2 separate regions of the Homo sapiens genome follow, and region 2 is linked to region 1. Evidence: promoter capture Hi-C in 16 types of primary human blood cells and fetal thymus (Javierre and others, 2016). All regions are on one chromosome and are shown on one strand. The core of a region is centred on a gene start or on the middle of the fragment in contact, and the rest is flanking DNA. Distances in the headings are between cores, read along the strand shown. Region 1 holds the start of TRAPPC3 (trafficking protein particle complex subunit 3). Region 2 overlaps KIAA0319L (KIAA0319 like).

Region 1 (5,511 bases), core at 1,734-4,233:
AGGCATGGTGGCACATGCCTGTAGTCCCAGCTACTCAGGAGGCTGAGGCAGGAGAATCACTTGAACCTGGGAGGCGGAGGTTGCAGTGAGCCAAGATCACACCACTGCACTCCAGCCTGGGCGACGGAGCAAGACTCTCTCAAAAAAAAAGGAGGACAAAAAAAAAAAAAAAAGAAAAAGAAATATGTTTCCATCCTGTTTCCCCGAGGGGAAGAAAGGCAAGGATATTTTCAGCCTCCTAGTTTGGTGGGGCAGGATCCAGGATGAACCTGATGGAGAGATGAAGGAAATCACTGGGAGAGTTAAGAAAATTAACAAATCTCTCAGAACTGAGGCCTTGGATGCTGCTCCCACACCCACAAATTACTGCAGGAAGTGGGAGGGGCCTCACAGTGGGGGCAGAGGAGAGAATAGGCACCCATTCTCACTCCCACCCCAGCCTCAAGGCACTGCCCCAGCCTCAAGGGACTGCAGCAACACGGGGTCTCTAACCAGCACCGGCCTTCCTGGGGGGCCTCAGCTCCCAGGGCCCACTCCCTGTGGCTGGTGATGCCAGCTGCCCCTCCCTGTCCAGCTCTTGGGGAGGCGGGGAACTCAGATACAGGACTAAATAGATTCAACCCTTTGGGTTCCCAGGAGAGAGTCTTTGTCTAGAGCCCCTGATAGGAACAGAAAGCTATCCCTTGTGTTGTTTTCTAGGGAGAAGGAGAAGAGGGTGGTGAGGGGACATCTGGTGTTCCTAAATGTCCTGGCACCTAGAAGTGGTAAGGAGGGTTGGGATTTGGGAATGATGGAAACCATACTGAGAATCCTTGGAACAGCTGTCTAAGGAGTTTTGTTGTTGTTGTTGTTGTTTTGAGACAAGGTTTCAGTTCTGTCACCCAGGCTGGAGTGCAGTAGTGCAAACATGGCTCACTGCACCCTCCACCTCCTGGGCTCAAGCAATCTTCCCACCTTAACCTTCCTAGTAGCTGGGGGCCAGAGGTGCACACCACAATGCTCAGCTGGTTGTTGTTTTTTTTAATTTTTATTTATTTTTGTTAAAAAAGTAAATAAACAAAAGAGTGGCTATTTCATAACAGAACAGCCTTTTTAAAAATTATTTTTTATGGAGATGGGGGTCTCACTATGTTGCCCAGGCTGGTCTCAAACTCCTGGGCTAAAGTGTTCCTCCTGCCTTTGCCTCCCAATGTGCTGGGGTTACTGGCATGAGCCACTGTGCTCGGCCTAAGAAGCCTTTAAGAACCTATCTGAGTGAGGAGGGGATCATATAGATCAACCTGAGATGGCCCCCACCCCCACTGTTCATTCAGGACTAATGACACTGCAAGTCCCAAAGAGAAAGAGACGCCAAGAGGAGGAATCCCAGGCAGAGAGAGGCAAAATCTCGGAGGCTGTTGGACAGGCAGGGAAAGGCTCCACCTCCACTCTCTCTAGAACCGCCCTGCTTGACAGCAGGCAGGGTGGGGTTGGGTGGCTGGCTGTGAGTGTGACTCAGGTTTCTGTGGGCAGCCAAGGGCAGCCGGCAGGGAGGAGCCCAGACCGACAGACCGGCTGGCCAACTGCAGCTTTCACCTCAGCTGTCCTCTGTCCTGGGAATGCAGAGGGCTCTTGTCTAGCTGAGCTGGCCCTTGGGGGCTAGTTGACTCCTGCTTTCCTCCCCCAACCCCAACCAACCCTCAAGTTCCTTCCCAGAGCCCTCGGCCCTTGGCTCCCTCCCCTGTGGCATTACACAGGATGGAGAGTGAGGGGTCACTGCCTCTAGGGAGGAAACAGAATGTCTGGGGAAAAGGGTATAATAATGATTGGTCCTGCACCCTGAGGGAGGGACTGGGGGAACCCTGGGCACCAGCTTGCAGCCTCAGCGGCCCCCCAGCCCTCCCTAGCCTGGCTGGCTCGTGTCTGGACAGGCTGGTTGTCATGGTGAGGGCTAGGGGCCAGAATGCAGCTGCTACAGTCAGGCTACCAGGCCTAAGTGAACAGAGAGTGCTCAGGGACCCCCCAGCCCAGCTTCCTCAGAGTTGACCAGCTGAGAGACCGCGGGAGCTGAAACCAAAGAGCTGTGGTCAGGGACTATAGACTTCCCCTTGGTGATGGGTGAGAGTTCAGCCAGCACATTCCCTTCGTGTTTCTGGTGCCTGTTTGTTGGCTTGTTTTTGGAGGGTGGCTGGAAGGGAATACACGTTTCTTTTATGCCTTTTATGCGCCCAAGTGCTGGGCATGCGTGGCTCACCAGTCTTTACAACAACTGAGAGAGATTTAGCAACTTGCCTAAAATGGCAAAGCTGGGATTAGAACTCAGAACTGACGGCCACGACAGTTAGTGATCTTTGTTTTCTGGGAACCAGGCAGTGTAGCTGTTCTAGGGGGAGGGAGGGGGAGAAAGTGACTTGAACTTTACCTAAAAGACTGGATATTCCATCACGAGGCCACAGGTGGTAGAAGGCAGGTGCTGGCATCATTTGGGGTTTGGCAGTCTGAAGAGAAAGACACTAGCGAAATGCTTGGCACATAGTAGGTCATTAAATATTTTTCTAATGAAGAAGCCAATTCTGTGTGAGTCATTGCTAGTTTTCTGGGACATCTTGGGAGCTTCTGGAGCTGAATCGCAACAGCGGAAGACGCTAGCTCGAAAGAGGGACTTTCCAAGACCAACCCCGGCGAGAGAGGAATTTGTGGAGCATCATCTCTGAGCCGGGCGCGGGGGGAGGGGGACAAGGAGGAAGCGTGTGTGTGACCCAGGATTACCGAAGGCTGCGGACGCCACCCAGCGGCCAGGATGCTGCCCAGCGCAAGCTGGGCTCTACCAGGCAGGCGCGCGCGGAGCACTCCGGGAGTTGTAGTTGACTGTGTTAAGAGGCGGTGCTGCCAAAGGGGCTGTTGGGTGTTGTAGTCTGACGTTTGTTGGGCGGGAGTTGCCCACGTCGGCCGGACCACTAGTCCCGTGGTGCCCCGCGGGAGGCCGCGCAGGCGCAGTGAGTCAGTGCCGGTCGGTCTTGTGGGCTGAGGGGCAGCGGCTTAGGCTCCGGCGTCTGCAGGGGTCGCCGAGCTAACCCGTGGCTAGGCGAGTGGGGCGGGGCGGCCGGCACCATGTCGAGGCAGGCGAACCGTGGCACCGAGAGCAAGAAAATGGTAACTTGGAGCGCGTGACCTCGGCGGGCGGGGCGAAATTGAGGCGTACAGGGAAGGGGCCCGGCGCCGAGCGCGAGGTGCGTTTGGAAAAGGGCCTTCCTGTGAGCTCTGGCAAGGGGAAGCCTCTTGCTGGGTCACTCCGGGGGCGTTCCAGGCAGGTGAGGGGACCGTCGGAGAAGTTCCCCGGAGGAGACCCCGCCCCCAAGGCCTGAGTGCAGCTCTGTGCTAAGCCAACAACAACGACGGTAATAAATACCAATAACTGCCACTTAACTTCTCTCTTACTATGTGTTGGGCACCGGGCCACGCACGTTACAGCATCTCAGTTAATCTGCAGAGTAGCCCCTATCAGATGGATAACATTGCCGTTTTACAGCTTGGAGAGCTTACGTAATTTGCCCATATTTACACCTGGGAAGTTAGGATTTGGACCCGTGTTTAACTCCAAAGCTAATGCTAGGAGCTGACTGTTAGGCTTTACTCTTAGGCTACAGTGTCTCGTACTGTGGCGTGGGTATTGTGAGAGATGTTCAGATACTGGTCGTGCCAGAAAGGAACGTTTTATTCAATGGAATAAGAGATGGGCCAGAGTAAGCAGTGAGTGGTGCCCCTCTAATGGAGTGGGTGGCTCCCTTCTTTCCCAGGGAATAGTTTGGACACCATATGGTCCTATAAAGTTGGACTAGGGGCTGGGGCTGCAGACTTAGGTCATTTTTCTTTCGTTCTTCCCTCCCTCCCCCCGCCCCCAGACGAAATCTCTGTCACCCGGGGTGGAGTGCAGTGGCACTAACTTGGCTCACTGCAACCTCTGCCTCCCAGGTTCAAGCAGTTCTTCTGCCTCAGCCTCCCGAGTAGCTGGGATTACAGGTGTCCACCACCACGCCTGGCTGATTTTTGTATTTTTAGTAGAGATGGGGTTTCACCATGTTGGCCAGGCTGGTCTCGAACTCCTGACCTCAGGTGATCCGCCTGTCTCGGCCTCCCAAAGTGCTGGGATTACAGGCGTGAGCCACTGCGCCTGACCAATTTTTGTATTTTTAGTAGAGACGGGGTTTCACCATGTTGGCCAGCCTGGTCTCGAACTCGTGGCCTTAAGTGATCTGCCTGTTCAGGCTCCCAAAGTGCTGGGATTACAGGGGTGAGCCACCACACCCGGCCAAAAGACGAGAATATTTTGTTAGGAAACAATGTCAGGTAAGGGGAAACACATGGACCTTGGTTGGAATTCTGACTTACTTGATTGATCTTCAATTTCTTTATCTATAAAATGGGGATAGTAATGTCTACCTAATATTAAATGGGATGGTGTAAAATGTGAGGGGCATGGTAAATGTTTCTTTCTCCTTTTCCTATGAGATGAGTAGAGGTCTTCCTGGTTAGTTTTTGTACTTTGCTCTCATTTTATCCATTTTTTAAGCCTGAAATCAATATTGAAATCTTTAACAAAAATCTGCAGACTCTACCCCCAGCCCCCAGTATTCTTCGTTTCAGTGAAGTAAGGTAATTAGGGAGGGGCAGCAGCATACTCCTGCCCTCAAGGCTCTTGGAACTCCCTTCTTCTAGATAGTCACTTAGCCCACTCCTGCCTTCATTCATAGTTACTCAAATGTCACCTCCTTTGAGAGGCCTTCCCTCCTGATTACCTGCCTAATTCTCTAACCTCTAACTCTATGCTGGTTGTCTTCATAGCACTGTCTATTTAATTTTAAATGATATACCCAGGCTGGAGTGTAGTGGCATGATTGAGGCTCATCCAGCCTGACCTCCCGAGTTCAAGCAGTCCTCCCGCCTCAGCCTCCCAAGTAGCTGGTACTATAGGTGTGCACCACCATGCCTGGCTAATTTTTTTTTTTTTTTGTAGAGCTAGGGGTCTCCCTGTGTTGCCCAGGTTGGTCTCGAGGTCTCGAACTCCTGGGCTCAAGCAGTCCCTCCAACTCTGCTTCACAAATTACTGGGATTGCATCTGTGTTCCATTTAAGCTTGCCAAGACCTAAATTGTTTTGTTTTGTGTTTTGAGACAGAGTCTCGCTCTGTCACCTAGGCTGGAGTGCAGTGGCCCGATCTCAGCTCACTGCAGCCTCCACCTCCCAGGTTCAAAAGATTCTCCTGCCTCAGCCTCCCGAGTAGCTAGGATTACAGGCACCCAACCACTACGGCTGGCTAATTTTTGTATTCCCAGGTTGGTCTCAAACTCCTGACCTCAAGTGATCTCCCCACCTCAGCCTCTCAAAGTGCTGGGATTACAGGTATGAGCCACTGCACCCAGCCTTCATTTTTTGTTTCTTGAAGCACCAAAAGCACAGATTTATTGAAATGAAAGTACACTCCACATAGCAGGAGCAGGCTCAAGCAAACGGCTCAAGAGCCATCTAAATTGTT
Region 2 (4,795 bases), core at 640-3,139, 600 kb after region 1:
TGGCCCTAGAAATCTGAAACAGGGAGAATCACTGAAGCCAATGTCCTTAGGCCCAGAGCTAACAGTTGGCTATGAAAACTTGTACTGACATTTCCCTACCTCTGGGAAGGAGATTATACAGTTAGTTAATACGTATTTTGAGTACAGAGATAAATTATTCAATTCAGAACCATTTTTTGAGAACTTACTAGGAGTCTGCTTCTAGACTAGGCACCAGGATAATAAAGATTAGTACAATACAATCCTTTCTCTGGAATAACTACCAGTAGCAAGTGAAAAGGTAGAGGCCAGGTGCATTGGCTTATCCTAGCACTTTGAGAGGCTGAGGCAGGAGGATCACCCGAGGCCAGGAGTTCAAGACCAGCCTGGACAACATAGTGAAACCTCATCTCTACAAAAATAAAAAAAATTAGCTGGTGGTGGTGGGCACCTGTAGTCCTAGCTACTCGAAAGGCTGAGATGAGAGGATCACCTGAGCCCGGGAGTTCAAGACTGCAGTGAACTGTGATCATGTCGCTGTACTCCAGTGTGGGTGACAGAGGGAGACCCTGTCTCTTAAAAAAAAAAAAAAAAGATGCAACGCACAGAGTGCTACTGGAACCGTAGGAGAAGCATTTAGCTTGGAGGCAAAGAGGGTGCTCTAAGGAGTTCTTTCTAGAGAAGCATCTTCTAGAGAAGCTGATGCCTGAACAGAGTTGTGAAGGTTGAATTTGAAGGATTCAAAGGGTATTCCCATGCAATGGGAATGCAAGAGCAAAGGCACAAAAGTGAAACAGCCTGGTATATAGAAGAAACTCCACAAGCAGTTTAGCACTACTGGAATATAAAGAGCAAAGCTGGTATGGCAGCTCCAGAAGAGGTAGGTGGTGGCTAGGTCACAAAGGATCTTGTATGCTATGCTAAGAAGCTTCAATTTTAAACTTTTTAGGTAGATGGTCTATAAATTTTTTTCATGATGCACTTTAATCCATTGAAAAATTGAGAATGTACCCCTGTATATAAATTTATACATTATAACACGTAATTTTATACTAATGTCTTATATATGTGTAAGAGATGCCAAAAACAAAATGTTAAAGGGATTGACAGAAGCAAATATGAAGAGTTCTAATATTTTCTTTTCATGCCCGAGGGATTTGTCTTGTGCACCTCTTAAGGCAAACACTATAATACTTTAATGCTAGTATTAAATATAAAACTATTAATACTGTATTAAATATACTATAATACTGGTAAATTTCTGAATAATTTTTGCAGGAGTATAGAAAAGTGGTAATTGTGGAGATGGAGATGGATGGAAAAGGGAGGGAGGTCAGGGTTAGAGGTTAGGGTATCCATTAGCATGTTAATGAAATAGTCCAGGAGAAAGTTGATGAGACTCTGTCTTCAAGGAACCTCTCAGTAATTTCATTCAATACAAACAAGTAGAGGTAGTCCTAAAGAGATGGGTAGAATTTAGATGTTCTGTAGTAGAGAGATTAGAGGAAGTTTTTTTTTTTTTTCGAGACAGAGTCACACTCTGTTGCCCAGGCTGGACTGCAGTGGTACGATCTCAGCTCACTGCAACCTCAGCCTCCAGGGTTCAAGCAATTCTCCTACCCCAGCCTCCCGAGTAGCTGGGACTACAGGGGTGCACCACCACACCTGGCTAATTTTTGTATTTTTAGTAGAGATGGGGTTTTGCCATGTTGCCAGTCTGGTGTCAAACTCCTGGCCTTGAGCATTCTACCCACCTTGGCCTCCCAGAGTGCTGGGATTACAGGCGTGAGCCACTGCACCTGGCCAAGAAGTTTTTTAAAATTGAGATATACCACTATCTAATTCCAGAACTTTTTTCTCACCCCTAGAAGAAGCCCTGTACCCATTAGCAGTCACTCCCTATCCTCTCCTCCCCCAGCTACTAGAAACCACAAATCTGCTTTCTGACTCTATGGATTTGCCTATTCTGGACATTTCATAAATGGAATCGTACAATACGTGGCCTTTTGTGTCTGGCTTATTTCATTTAGCATAATATTTCCAAGGTTCATCCATATCCTAGCAGGTATCAGTACTTCATTTCTTTTTATGGCTGAATAATATTCTGCTTTATGGATATGCCACTTTTGTTTATCCATTCATCAGTTGATGGACATTGGGTTGTTTCTACTTTTTGGCTATTATGAACAATGTTGCTCTTAACATTTATGTATACATTTTTGTGTGAACATATGTTTTTAATTTTCTTGGATATCTGTATATATAAATACATGTATTTACATATAAATAGTACAATTGCTGGATCATGTGTATATATATATATAATGTATATATGTAATTCCACTCCACTATATGTATATATCCAATTGCACTATAGTAAAATATATATGCAATTTATATATAAATATATATGAAATAAATTTATATATAAATGGAATTGCTGGATTATATATAATCACGTATAATATGTATAATTATATGTAATTATATATGTATATATTACATATATAAATAGTGGAATTGCTGGATCATATATATAATATATGTAATAATATATATGATCCAGCAATTCCACTATTTGTATATAAACATGTAATAATATATATATGATCCAGCAATTCCATTATTTATATATGTATATAAATTTATATATAAAATTTCACTTTTATATATATATTTATATATAGGAGTGGAATTGCTGGATGTTATGGTAACTCTTGGTTTAACTTTTTTGAGAAACTGTTTTCTATAGCAGCTGCACCATTTTACATTTCCACCAGTAAAGTATGGGGGTTCCAGTTTCTCTACATCCTTGCCAACACTTGTTATTATTCATCTTTTCTATTATAGTAGAGAAGGTTGTTGAAGGTTAGAAAAATCAAGGAAAGCTTCATGGAGGAAATGGAACTTGGCTTGGGCCTAATACGTATTCAGTTTATAGATGGACAAACTGACACAGTTGGAGACAAGGACTAGAGAAACAACTGGATGGGTATAGATTTCTTCATTCTTTTGTTCATTTTTAAAATTACTTACTCAGTCAATAAATATTTATTGAGGCAGGCACTGTTCTTCGTGAAAGATTGCTGTCCAGTTCCCTGACTTGATCTTTGCAGTCAGTGAAGCTTTCTGAAAGAGTAGACCACATTTGCTATTTCCATTCTCCCACCTTCATCCTCTTCTGAGTTCAGTAAGGTCTGGCTTCTGCCCAAACCTTGGCTTTTGCCAGGGTAACTACTGACCTTCCTAGTTGGACGCCTTTATTTCTTACCTTACTTAACATCTCTACTGCATTTGACACCTTTGATTACCTTCTTGAGACCGTTTCCTCACTTGCCTTAAGTTACACCATGCTTTGTTTTGTCCTCCTCTTAGCCAATGCACAGCACTTTCTTATTATTTTTCCCCCACTCCCTTCTCTCCCTTACATCTTTTGTTTGTCAGGGTTCTGTTTCACCCTTTTTTGTCCCACTTGTGGTCTCCCTGGGCAGTCTCATTCATTCCTCACTTGTAACCTGTGTGCTCACTACTTCCAAATTTATAGCTATTCCTGAGCTCCAGACCACTTAGCCATCTGTACGCTGCACATCTCCAGCCAAGATGTCTCATGGCTACCTCTAACTTAGTATCGCAAAACTGAACCTGTGATCTTTTACCCCCTTTCTTTTCCTTTATTCCCTATAACCATGAAAAGACCACCTCTAGCCATATTCTGAGGTTGAAATCCCTGAGTCATTTTTCTTTTTTTTCAAGGCACAGTCTTGCTCTGTCGCCCAGGCTGGAGTACAGTGGCACAATCTTGGCTCACTGCAACCTCTGCCTCTCAGGTTCAAGCGATTCTCCTGCCTCAGCCTCCTGAGTAGCTGGGATTACAGGCACCTGCCACCACGCCCGGCTAATTTTTGTATTTTTACTACAGACAGGGTTTCACCATGTTGGCCAGGCTGGTCTCAAACACCTGCCTCACCCTCCCAAAGTGCTGGGGTTACAGGTGTGAGCCACCGCACCTGGCTGCCTAAGTCATTCTCTATTCTTTTCTGTCCTTCACATGCATGTCACAGTTCATCTCACATTTCTGTGTAGAGGGCTCCATTTCTCTGCATATGGCATTACCATTCTGCCTGATGTATTCCAATTCAGATAAACATAAGCTCCTTTCTCGTGCTTTCCCTGAGACCCCTGGTGTGGACTTCTCTAATGTTCTCATAATATCTATGCATCTCTCTATGATTATACCATGTTATACTCTGTGTGGCCTTAGGCTTTGTGAGGAGAGGTTCAGAGTAGGTTTTGCTCTAGAGTGTGGTCCTTACTCCTAAGGTGAGGCCTTTCTGGTGTCTCTGCTGGTGTATGGCATTAATGTGATTGCTTCACTCTTCACTCTGGCAGAGGGCCAGAGTTCCAGCATGCTCCTCTTGCCCCCCTAGAGGGCACTGCTTGACCTCTAGTGAGTCTCCCTCTCAGCCCTGTAGCATCTACCATCTAGTTAATAAACATCATGTGGTCTTGCCGCATGCCTTTGTAGTCTAGCCACGGACTGGCAGGGGACCCTCCCACTGGACTTCTGGGGCCCCCTTTCTTCACAGCTCCTTCCTCTCAAATTCTTACCCCTCACCTTCTAGCCAAACTCACATCTCCGCTTCCTGGGCTCAGTGAGACCCATGTGTTCTGTTTGGGTTCCGGCTTCCTATGTCATGGTTGGGAAATTGTCCCTTAACATACAGCTGGGCAGTTATGGGGCTCACTTCAGGTTTCCCTTCTCAGGATTGCAACCTTGCCCTGCCTGTTATCTCCTGACTAAAAACAGTTGGATTGT

The links. The method cuts DNA at HindIII sites, captures the fragments that hold promoters and counts their contacts. A CHiCAGO score of 5 or more calls a contact.
Region 2: a contact is called between a fragment that was not itself captured here and the fragment with the promoter of TRAPPC3 in region 1, in 1 of 17 cell types (neutrophils). The highest score is 5.1, in neutrophils.

What each region holds. Positions count from the first base shown.
Region 1 is chr1:36,146,958-36,152,468 of GRCh38, reverse strand. It overlaps TRAPPC3 (trafficking protein particle complex subunit 3), which reads left to right and starts at 2,983. Exons shown (of 5, transcript NM_014408.5): 1 at 2,983-3,132. The coding sequence starts at 3,091. RefSeq lists enhancers at 2,430-3,089, 3,220-3,299, 2,653-3,313. The HindIII fragment of the contact is 15,390 bases long and covers 1-5,113 here.
Region 2 is chr1:35,544,829-35,549,623 of GRCh38, reverse strand. All of the region lies in intron 2 of KIAA0319L (KIAA0319 like), which reads left to right. Among named protein-coding and RNA genes, the nearest start is that of KIAA0319L, 10 kb to the left of the region's middle. RefSeq lists a silencer at 4,457-4,506. The HindIII fragment of the contact is 1,960 bases long and covers 910-2,869 here.